Linked DNA regions of Homo sapiens: region 2 is linked to region 1. Evidence: promoter capture Hi-C in 16 types of primary human blood cells and fetal thymus (Javierre and others, 2016). All regions are on one chromosome and are shown on one strand. Each heading gives the region's core, a stretch centred on a gene start or on the middle of the fragment in contact. The rest is flanking DNA. Distances are from core to core; before and after follow the strand shown. Region 1 holds the start of TKTL2 (transketolase like 2). Region 2 overlaps MARCHF1 (membrane associated ring-CH-type finger 1).

The links. The method cuts DNA at HindIII sites, captures the fragments that hold promoters and counts their contacts. A CHiCAGO score of 5 or more calls a contact.
Region 2: a contact is called between a fragment that was not itself captured here and the fragment with the promoter of TKTL2 in region 1, in 1 of 17 cell types (monocytes). The highest score is 7.1, in monocytes.

What each region holds. Positions count from the first base shown.
Region 1 is chr4:163,471,585-163,477,732 of GRCh38, forward strand. It overlaps TKTL2 (transketolase like 2), which reads right to left and starts at 2,170. Exons shown (of 1, transcript NM_032136.5): 1 at 1-2,170. The coding sequence starts at 2,150. The coding sequence ends at 270. The HindIII fragment of the contact is 3,282 bases long and covers 1-2,899 here.
Region 2 is chr4:163,690,805-163,696,952 of GRCh38, forward strand. All of the region lies in intron 5 of MARCHF1 (membrane associated ring-CH-type finger 1), which reads right to left. LOC107986325 (a long non-coding RNA gene) reads left to right here. Exons shown (of 3, transcript XR_001741915.3): 2 at 3,326-3,421. Among named protein-coding and RNA genes, the nearest start is that of TMA16, 200 kb to the left of the region's middle. RefSeq lists an enhancer at 2,749-3,948. The HindIII fragment of the contact is 5,023 bases long and covers 1,246-6,148 here.

The DNA of each region.
Region 1 (6,148 bases), core at 920-3,419:
GTTGTTTTATTTCCTATTCTATTGCTTACAATTTTAAAATCCACATTAATAACTCAGAGTAACATTTATACATAGATTAACAGAAAGGTAAACTTTAATTTCCAAATTAGGAATGAAGAAAGATGTTAAATGGCTTTGCTTTAAAAGAAACAGTACAACTGTATAGGTATAAATAATGGTTTTGTGACAATAAACATGAATTTAATACAAAGATACCAGTGCTTTTGGGCCAAAGCCAATAGACTTGACTTTTTAGAAATAAGCCTAGTTTACTTCATTAAAGTAAGTGTTACGGCTGCTATAATGTGTCTGGTACTGATTCCAAACATATCCAGCAATTCACTAGTTTTCCCACGTTGAGGCACTCCTGACACTGCCAGTTGATGAACAAGGATATCAGGCTCCCTGGAGACAGCTGCACAAACAGCTTCTCCAATGCCACCTTCCCTGTAGTGATCCTCCACTGTGATAACTCGGCCGCCTGTGGCTTTTGCACTGGAGATGATGGTGGCGGCATCCAGGGGTTTAATGGTAAATGGGTCGATGACACGGACAGAAATACCTTGTTGAGAAAGATGGTCAGCAGCTTCTAAGGCTTCATGGAGAGTAACTCCAGCTCCAATTACTGTGACTTTATCATTGACACCGTGGCGGACCACCTTGGCCTGGCCAATCTCAAAATTTTCTTGTGGGGTATAAATAACTGCAGTTTCTGGTTGGCTGGTTCGAATGAAGCACATTCCCTTGGTATTGGCGGCTAGATAAATAGCATGCTCTGTCGAGATGGCATCACTTGGATAGAAAACAGTACAATTGGGAATGCTTCGGAACATGGCTAGATCCTCCAGGGCCATCTGGGAGACTCCATCTTCTCCAGTGGATACCCCACAGTGGGAACCAATAAGGTTGATATTGGCTTGAGAAATGGCTCCCATTCGGAGCTGATCGAATGCTCTAGTAAAAAAGGCAGCAAAAGCACCAGCAAAAGCAATGGTTCGACCACGTGTAGCACAGCCTAGTGCCACACTTACCATGTTTTGTTCAGCAATAATACACTCTATGAAACGCTCAGGGTGTTCTTTCCTGAATATCTCAGAAAAGGTGGAGTTCATCGTGTCACCACTCAGAACAATAACTCTTTCATTTGCACGGCCCAGTTTAGCCAGAGCCAAACCATATGTTTTCTGAGTAGCTATCTTGTCACCAACTTTGTAAGCAGGTGGGGAGGTCATTTTTATATCTGTGATGCTTATTTGAGGTGAGTCTTCCACAGGCGATTTTGGTATGAGATTCTCATTGGTCTGTATCTGACTCTCAATTAATTTGACAATTGCATCTGCTCTTTCTTTTGGCACTGGCTTTCCATGCCAATTTTCTGCATCCTCAATATTTGGAATACCCCGACCTTTGAAGGTCTTGGCAACTATAGCAGTAGGCTTGTTCTTCACTTGACTTGCTTGCCAAAATGCTTGGCACAAGGCCTCCACATCATGGCCATCCACTAAGTAAGTATTCCATCCAAAGGCTTCACAGCAATTCTGGTAGATGTCTGCGCCATGCTCAAGGGGTGCAGGGCCACTTTGTCCCAAGCGGTTCACGTCGAAGACCGCCACGAGATTGTCCAAGTTGTAGTGGGAGGCAAAAGCAAAAGCCTCCCACACAGAGCCTTCTGAGGATTCGCCATCTCCCATAAGGCAGAACACCCGGTAGCTGGCCTTGTCAAGGTACTTGCCAGTATAAGCCATTCCACATGCAGTACCTAATCCCTGACCTAGGGACCCTGTTGCCACGTCAACAAACGGCAATCGGGGGGTAGGGTGTCTCTCCAAGTCGCTGTGAAGTTTCCTCAGGTTCAGCAAGTCAGATTCACTGATGTCACCCACCTCCACCCAAGCAGCATAGAGGATAGGAGCAGCATGTCCCCTGGAGAGGATGAACCGGTCGTTGTCCGGGTGTTCTGGGTCTGTCTGTTTATACTTCATCGTGTGGAAGAAGAGGACAGACACGACCTCCGCTGCACTGCAGCACGACGTGAGCTGGCCAGAACCAGAGGCACACGTGGCCCTGATGGAATGGATCCGCAGGCGGTTGGCTGTGTCCCGCAGCACCTGCACGGTCTTCACGTCGGGCTTGGCGTCGTTGGCCATCATCTCTCTTTTGTCGGTTTGGCAAAGCAAACGGCGCCGCAGCACCCCCACAACCCACCGCGGCAGTGCTCTCACGTGACCGCCCCGCCCTCGCCTCCCCTCTGCCTGAAGGCCTGAGCTCAGCCACCAGCCGGGGCGCCCACAACGGAGCTTCCCGCGAGACTGAGGAAACGGAAACGTTGGAGTAGCCTGCACCCTCTGATGTGCACCGTTCCCTCTCCCTGTCCACGCCCAGCTGAATGGATTTTTAGTATTTACTTTGTCACGTGCATGTTCAACATTAGGAAGCATAATTAAATTTTTTACCTTTCCCTGTGTTATAAATTCAAGACTAGACATTTTTCTGTGTATTATAGGAAGCGATTTGTCAGGCTGTGCTTTTTTAATGCATTAACACTATATCCGAGTCATCACTCTTTCATATCAGAACATTAATAGAAAGGATACAAAGTCACTTTCAATCTGACCAGTATGGCAATGCTATCTCAACAGAGACTTTCTCAGAGCAACCAAATATCTGAATCTCAGACTTATAGAAAGAAATGCAATGACTAATTTGACCAAAATTTATAGGAAGAACAAATCTGAAACCACCCAATTGCAGAATAGAATTGCAACTCCAGTGTGCCGTAAAGTACTATTTCTGTGTTGAAATAATTAGAAGGCCAGTAGGCTGAGGTAGCTTCAGCTCCATGAGTTCCTACCTAAGGAAAGGAAACCCAAATCAGTGTAAATGATAAAAAGGAAATTTAAGCTTAATCAATCAGAAACTGCCAGCTAACTTCTAACTGGGGACTTTCCACTGGGATGACCCAAATAAGTCTAGTACTCCACTTTAACCAATCAAATATCTTTCCTTTGCTTCCAAATTCACCCTATAAAAGCCTTCTCCTTGGCTCCTTTATCAGGAGCTACCAGATTCATGAATCACTGAATGGTCAAATAAATGCTTTAATATTTTAATGTGCCTCAGTTTATCTTTTAATGACTATTACTACAAATCATTTTTAAGACAAAGTTACTTACTTTAAAAAACTAAATTTGTGGGCCGGGTGCTGTGGCTCACACCTGTAATCCCAGCACTTTGGGAGGCCGAGGCAGGCGGATCACAAGGTCAGGAGTTCGAGACCATCCTGGCTAACACGGTGAAACCCCGTGTCTACTAAAAATACAAAAAAATTAGCTGGGCGTGGTGATGGGCACCTGTAGTCCCAGCTACTCGGGAGGCTGAGGCAGGAGAATGGCGTGAACCTGGGAGGTGGAGCTTGCAGTGAGCCCAGATTGTGCCACTGCACTCCAGCCTGGGAGACAGAGCGAGACTCCGTCTAAAACAAAAAAAACTAAATTTGTGCCATTGAACTCTTCTAGCAGGCCAAGGTTATGGTTTGTCATCAATAAAACAACAATTAAAAAAAACACAATGATAATATATCATACCTTCCCATATTGCGATGTTAAACCTCTTGGTTTCTTGAGCAATAATTCTTACCTTAACTTCACGTTAAAATTAGGGCACATAAGAAACACAATGCCTGGTTCCATCCCAGAAAAATAGAATTTGAATTTCTGGACCTGGAGTCTGGGAAGCTATGTTTCTAAAATACATCCATTGATTATAATGGGTAGTCAAGGTTAATAACATAATCTGGAGATAGTCTGAGACCAGTGGTTCTCAACATTAGTTGTAGTTTAGAATTATCTGGGAAGTTTTAAAAACATCTCATGTCCATGCTGCACTCCAGACCAATTATATCAGAATTTCTAGGCAATAGATCTAGGCGTCAGTAATTTTAAAATCTTCCCCAGGCAATTTCAATGTTCAGTCAGGGTTGTAAACAACTAACTCAGGGGGTGTTGTTACTCTTTATACTTATTATCTCTTGCATTATATCTCAGAAAAATATTTCAAATGTTATTTGCTATTTCAACTAGTTCTATCATTTTAACTTTTAAGGACACATATTAGAATAAATAGTAATAATATGACACTACTGATTTTAAGACTTGTTGCAGGAATGTTGGCATTGGAGAAGTTCTTAAGAGGTCATCATGTATCCATAACTCTCCATGTCCTTTGCAAATTAAAGCTTGTTTATCTTTTTAGACAAATAAAGGAGGAGGAAATACAAGCAGACTAGGCTAGAACTGGTAGTACAGAAGATGGGAATTAGAGAAAAAATAATAATCACAGTAAAATAATAGCAAACTACTACAGGCTGACAGGAAAGTAGTTAATATAAACACAGGTAGCTCACCATTATTTTGGCCAAAAAGAACTCTAATAAATCCACACAATTAGTAAACATGATAGTACAAAAATGATTTATGAGGCAATGTTCCCATGAATAAAAACATGGGACTTCTTAACATTTCTTTCCAAGTTCCCACATTCTTTCACTCATTTAAAACATTGCACAGCTATTTCCTAAAGTATTAAATAAAAAAATTTTAACATTAGCAAAGGTCAATTTTATTAAGAGAAGAATGTAGTCTTGGAGATTTAATACCCTAGATAGTGAGTGTGAATTTCCCTCTATCATTCTGTGAGACCGTGTGAATTTTTTATACTATATAGAAAATAATATTTTATAAATTATGTGTAAAATACTTATAAACCATTCTGAGATTTTGTAAAAGGAACTCTGGAAAGATATATATATATATATATATATAAATATATAAAAGTATATATATAGTAAAATATCTGGAAAGATATACTATATATAAAAGTATATATATTATATATAAAAACTCATATCAATATATGTAATATATATTAAGTTTATATAAAATTAATTTTATATTAATATGTTATATAAATAACATATATAAGCTGTTAATTATTTTCTTTAAGCATTTTAGTCTTTTAAATTTGAAATATATTTTAAAATATACAATTGAAAATATATAAATACAGGTAGAGCATCCCAAATTTGAAAATCTGATGTTTCCAATGCTCCAAAATCTGAAACATTTTGAGCACTGACATGTTACTCAGGGGAACTGCTCAAAGGACATTTTGGATTTGGGATTTTTCTGATTTGGAATGTTCCGTTGTTAAGTATAATGCAGATATTCCAAATTTTTTTTTAATTGAAATCCAAAACACTTCTGGTCTCAAGCAAATAATTTCAACTAAAGAATACTCAACTTGTTTAAAGTATGCACAATTTCATAATGCAAAATTACCCAATATGGCTGGGAACACAACTTCGTCAAATAAATCAAACAAAGACGTGATACCACCTTCTCCCCTATTTAGAAGACAAAATAGGGGAGCCAAACCCTATTTGGCTGACAAAATGTCAGCCAAAAACTTTTAAACCAGCACGCCAAAAATGTAGTTGTCTTGGAGAAAAGTTCATTATTCATTTTAGAGATCATTTTGGAAGCCAGTCAAAAATGTTCTGCAAATAGGAAAACATTATTCATTTATTATTAATCTTGGTTTATCCAGACAAAGCAGAGATTGGCAAATTCAAGTGCCTACTGGGATAAGGAGTTACCACGAGTGCTTGGATGTCAGCTATAAGAGGGTTAGAGGGGCCTGTGTTAAACTGGAGAATACAAGACCACTTAAAGGCATTCAAAATTGAAAAACTTATAAACATTTTGTTGGAAAAATAAAATATACCTTCAGGCTGCCACTTTTGACCCCAATTTAAAGTCTATTTAAAAGCAGCAATAATTTTTGTTTTAACTTTGCTTAAATTTTTCACTTAATTTTTTCTCATAGTATCTAAAAGTATTCATTATAGCGTGTACTTCACATGAAAACAAAATCTAACAGGATTACCAATACAAGTAGCTATGAGGGAAAAACTTAAATAGTAGCAATTGATAAGTGTAATTTCTACTGAGCTGCAGCAGAGAAAACAGAACACACAATTACCGATTACTGAGTAGGTCTACACTGATTTGTGAAAATAGATATTTTGCCATGTGAGGGTGAGTGATATTTAGGAGTTGGGAACGCTGAAATTTTACTTAAATCTTATTTA
Region 2 (6,148 bases), core at 2,507-5,006, 220 kb after region 1:
TCCTATCATAAGAAGCTCAAAGTGCCAGGCATCAATCAAAGCTTTAGGCTTATTGGACTCTTATTTTGTTCTCATTTGGGAGCGTTACATCTCCTTCTGGGAACCAGAAGTTATAAACCTGCAGAGCCCAAAGCGCTGGCTGTGGGAAGCACAAATTCCCCAAGGCGACCACTGGGAGTGATGATAAGCAGGGTCACTTGCACCTGTTAGTTCTTGGGCCCAAGTATTATAAGTATATAAGGCAAAGCGTCATTTTATGGCTGTGGATTCAAAAAATATGCTGCATCCTGAGGGATTTAGCTCCATTTTCCCAGGGTGCCTTTTCCAAGCTGATGCCTCTCAAGCATCTTCAAAAGGCTATCGAATTGTTGTATCAGGCCGGCAGCATCTGGCTGGTAGGCTATGTGCTAATCCCAGTAAATGTCATGATCATATATTCACTGCCACACCATTTTTTGCTATAAGGTGAATCCCTGGGTTAGAGACCATGTTAGGCAGAATCCTGCCCCATGTTAGTAGGTCAGATACTGAGACTTCAGATGTTGGTGATGGATGACAGCATGAGAAAATTCTGCCACATAATGGTGACAGGAGAAATACATATGTCCCTCAAGTGATATACTAGGACATCTCTTTCCCTCGCACTAGTGTGGCTGTAAGTGGAGAAATATAGAAATTATGGCCTGATAAGAGAATGGCAGCCAGGGACTCAGATTTCTCAGGCAAGCTACCCAGAGCAGCATAAGTGCTGGAAAAAGGTGAAAGGAATCTAAAATGAATGGGTGAAAACAATGGTGAGTATCAGTTATGACCTGTGAACCAGATGCAACAATGAGGGCTCTGTTTCATTCCACTTAACCTTTTCTTATAAGTTTCCTACAAACTGTAACCAACCAAAATCCTGGAGAAGCTATGTTGAGGTGAAACAAACTTAATTTGAAACTTAAATGGATCTCAGTGGTCCAAGCAGTCATCAATGGTGGAGGTTTTTCCCCACGCAGATGTTTACTACAGGCCAGTGCCCACATTACCCAGCTGCTGTGTGGCTGATGATCATAGCTACTCCCTTCTCTGGAGAATCACCTTTGGCCTAACAGGAACTTTCTCAGCCAAAAGTCTATATACTCTCCTACCCCAACAGGCCAATAGCTGCTTGACAGAGATGGGGAGACTGACTGCTTTTCCTCAAGAGAGGGTTAACATGTGGTGCAATTTGTCTGGCAGAGGTTCCCTACGGGATCAGGAAGCTTGTGTGTATTGGTCACATGTTCACGGACTGGCGTGGCCCAAGGATCATTGCTCATAAGTCCACAGATCCCATGTTAAGAACTTATGTATTATAAGTTAACAAAACAAAGCAGGCTCTATTCATTAATTCAACATATATTTGTTGAGTGTGTCCTACTTATCAGTCCCTCTTCTGGGGCTGAGGAAGCAGCCTTGAGTGAAGAAATAGTTATTGCCCTCATAGAAGTTAAACCAATAAAAAATATATAATACTGCAGATTATGATAAAATTCTTAAATAAAAATAAGTAGCAAAGGAAATAGGTCCTCACTGATAAAGTGGTATTTGAGTAGAAATGTAACAGAGACAAGGAAACCAATCTTAGTGCTGTGTGGGCAATGAGCATTCTGGGCAGCAGCAGCATGAAGGGCAAATGCCCTGAAAACAAAACCTATGCTTGAGGAACAAGAGGAAGTCAGTGTGTCTGGACATGAGTTATTAAGAGGAAGAATGAGAAGAAAATTAGCGAGATACCACAGGGCTGGATTATGGCTCCTTGGCCCCTGAAAGAATTTATGTTTTATTTCAAGTAATATAGAAAACCATTAGAGGTTTTGAACAGCAGCAAGACATTAGCTAACTGATATTTGGAAAGGATCATTTTGGTTGTTGTATGAAAAATAGACTTAAAAAATATAAGGATGATTGTTTCCACCATGTCACCATTTAGCTTCTCGGTCTGTTCCCTGTAGAAAACTGGTAGGTCAGGCAAATGACAGTAGATCATGGCAAATGCAACCAAGTAGAAGCACTAACTGAAGCTGTTGTGTGCGGTATGTAATATCTTTACTAGAGAAGAACAACACAATATCTGGCATGTGGTATGAGGCTATTAATCCACGAATGTGTTCTTTTCAATATTTGTCATAAATGTGGATCAAAAGCAGTTTGTATTCATCTGGCATGGACGTTAATATACAATCATGGTCCTGTTCCAGGGATATTTTGCAAAACAGATAGGAGGTAGACTCAAATGTCCAGTGGTTGTCAAATATCAGAACAGTCCATTGTATTTATGATATCATCAGGTATAATGAGGTCTAATGAGCAGGAAGGGCCAATAATCTGAATGCTTTGTTAGGATATCTGTGTCCCAGAGAGTAGGAAATAAAACGAACGTATCTTCAGGAGCTGGACAAATCAGTGAAATTTTTAGAAATTCTGTAGTCTACTGCATGCTAGTGCATTTCTTCCAGAGTTAAGACCAAATTTTGCATTTTACTTTACTATCAAGAAGGACCCAGGCTGTTTGGTAGAACTCTTTGAATTTTAAACACAGCATAAACCACATTTTGGAATGATGCCTCTTTAACAGATGACTCAGAAAGCTGCAGTTCTGAGTGGGGCCTAGAATGATAGAAGGTTCTGCAGCAATATCAGCTGCAATACAAGCACCCTTGATGCCACAGCAATAATAAATGGCAATACTACTAGAGGTACCATGATAAATAAAAATGCAATGTGGGCTCTCTGTCAAATCTGAATGGAGAACTGCAGTGAAAACCCTAGTGTTCTGGATCAAGGCCATACTATTGCAGCATAGTTCTTTCACCATTTGGAAAGCAGCTCCTAACAAGCTACCTGGCCATAGTAAGACTAAAGGCCTTTGTATGGACATCAGTTGACCATATGACTGGAACTATCCCTCATGAGCTTAATAACACATGTTATATTGTCCAGTAGGCAGAGCAGCAATTTATTGAACAATGGAACTAACTCATTATAAGAAAGTAGGGTTGCTGCTACTTGGGAGAGCAAGAAATATTTTGAAATTTGCGGAAATCCACTGTTGCATATTTTCGTTTACCCACACCCAGGTTTAACTTCAAATAAGTGATTACAGCAACTACAGCATGATAAGGTTCAAAGGTCAGAGACACTTCACCAGCAAGCCACTTAGACTAACAGAAGTGATCATCAAGAATGAAGGATATTTGGAATGAGTCAGAAGAAGGATATGATGAATCAGTTATAACTTTGCAGCTGCAAGTAGTGAGAGCCCATTCGGCTAATCAATGTCTTTTAAGTTTCTCCTCAGAAACGGTGGCCAATCATCATCTATACAAATCCATGACAGGATGAAATGAGTTCATGTGGATCTGGGTGGCTCAAAGGATGGACGACAGCAGGTGCTGTGAGTATTCCACCAAAATCCCTTTGGGTCCCTCTCACTGGTTCAGTACACATCTCCTTTGGCTTCTGGGTGCTTTTGTTTCTAAAGTCCCACTACTGCAATTCTCTTTGGAAAACTTCCCTTTGGCTTCTTGGACAGTTTACCTGCATGTAAAGAGAATCAAAATGGCTGGGAGTTTTTCTCACCCTGAATGACCCTGAGCCAATGAATGGCAAATACTGGAGGATGAAAGCCTTGCTCCCTTGCCTCAAGAGGGGACAAAGTGAAGTGCATTTTACATTCCAGAATCCCTATGCAGGAGCAGGGAAATTCTGACTTCTTTCTCTTCCCTGGGCTGCCTTTCTTACTCCTTGGATGTCTTGTCCTAGGAATATTCTCATAGTGAGTCATTGCAAAAAAATTATCATCTCAGGATCTGCTGTGATAAACCTGACCTAAGACAGATTCCTATTACACATTTTGTGGGAAATTTGATTACCATTTTGAGTCTGGAATTTATGGCAGAGATTTGAGCTAAAAATATCTTGATAGCTGTTGGGCTATTGATTATATATAAAGTTATGAGGCTAAATGAGATCGCCCAAGGAGTGAGTGTATATAAATAACATGCTTCAGGACATAAGAAGGTCTCAGACTTTCTTATCTTCTCCCTTGAATAATTAAACTAAATTTATACCCATTTCCTCAACTTTGGTCTCAGGACAGACCTTAACTCAGGGTCTCTGAAAGTCCTCAAATTAGTCCACCTCATTTCTAGTTATTTCCTAATTATATATCCTACTTTACTTCATCAACCTACCAAACTTACCCTCTAAAGGTATATAGTCTGAAGGGATAGATGATTTATAGGTCCATTGTGTTAGCAAACCAAAATGGATCTCTCAATAAATCAGAACATTAAACACCTGTTCAGAGGTGCAAACACTTGGCTCAGGTTTTCAGCTGAAAAGAATTCTCAGTACATTTTATACATAAGAAACACTTTCACCTTGACCTTGCTGGAAAGTACTTTGGGATCTTAAAGGCAAGTCTGGAAAAATATGGAGAGATGAAGATTTACAGAAGTAAAATTAAAGTATATATTGGATCAGAAGAAAACACCTATTTAAAATGCTGTGAACCATAGAATACCTTGTACACAGTACGTCATCAAAAAATATTTGTTGAGTAAATTGTACTGAAATTGTACTGACTATCCCATGCATCTTTATTTATTGCAGAATTAACTGGTGTGCACATTTTATAAACTTTACCTTGAAATTTTGTAAGATATTTTAAGGTAGAGACTAACTGAAGAATTGAAATGACTCTCTGTCATGTAAATGAAGTCTAGTGAATGTAATAGGAAATGATGGAAACTAACTGAAATATCATTTTGTTAAGCTAGTGGCTTTTGAATTTCTTCTCATAAACAGATTAGATTTTGTGAGCTGCTTCCTACACACACCAAAAAGCAAAGGATTTTATTTAAAAGAAAATTCTGTTGACTTGAATTGGAAGTACAAGCCGTTCTTTCCTTTTGACAGTTGGCTTTTGAAAGGTTTTTCTTGGGAGATACATATTACACTGTTGCTAGTTAAATGTAATGATCCTTTACCCTAGAAGAAATAAAAGGCAAGATTTGGCTGACTTTTCTTCTTGAGGAACCTATTTGTGAGTAATATGTGTGTTAAAAAGCAGTAACAAGCACTAATATAAAAAAGTATTAAAAACTTAAGTGATGGATAATTGAAAGCTGCCTTTTTCACATCCAAGATATTTTGATAATCTCACATATACTATAGTAAACCTATATAACTTATCTGTAGCTTTTGGATCAACTGTAACGTATCCAAGGCACACCAACCTTACTTGAATTAAAAAAGAAGAGAAAGAAAGAGAGAATCATAGGTGTAACTGTCTTATATTTACTAAGACAAACTAGAAATATAAATTAATAAAAAAGTAAATTTTGCAAGGACCATAAAATTCAAAGTATAATTGCTGTTGAATAATATATGGTACAAAGATCCAGAGGTAAAAACTTAGGAGATATAATTTTTGATGTTCACGAGCAATTGCACATTTATTATTTATCCCATGTTTGGAATTTTTTACTTTCACAGTAGCAAGATCATGTTTATAAGACACAGTCCTGAATGGCAAAAATAATAATGTTCCATTTCATACATACTCATTAAGAAAAGTCTCAAGGACCTTGATGGGTTCTAGATCAATTTCTCTGTTTCTAAGCCAGATGACACTTCAGTGACTGCTGTTGAGCACCAAGACTCTCATGAACTTCCCTGGTAGGTGACACTTCTTCACATGAGCTGTCAAACTCATTGAGCTTGACAGTCTCACATAGATTGAGATTGTATGACCTTTATGACTAGACTGAAGATAATGCATTCTATTATTTAAAGTTCCATCTCAAAAACCCTTACAAAGTATTTTATATAACTTCTTCCTTATGATCTATGTTTTCTAGCTTCCATGGCTTGGACTTATAACCCTTTAAACAGCCTTCCCTGACAGTTGATCAATTCACACCCATTCTTCAAGTGCCTTTTTACATACTATGCTTCTAAGAAATTTTCTCTGCTGCTACCCTGTCCCAATTAGATGGAAGTGATGGCTCTCCGAATTCCCATAGCTTCTGTCTATACTTCTTTTTTAGGTAGCATATTAGGGGTTCCATTCACCACACCCAGGTTCAGTGACTTTCTGAGAGAACTCAGGACAGAA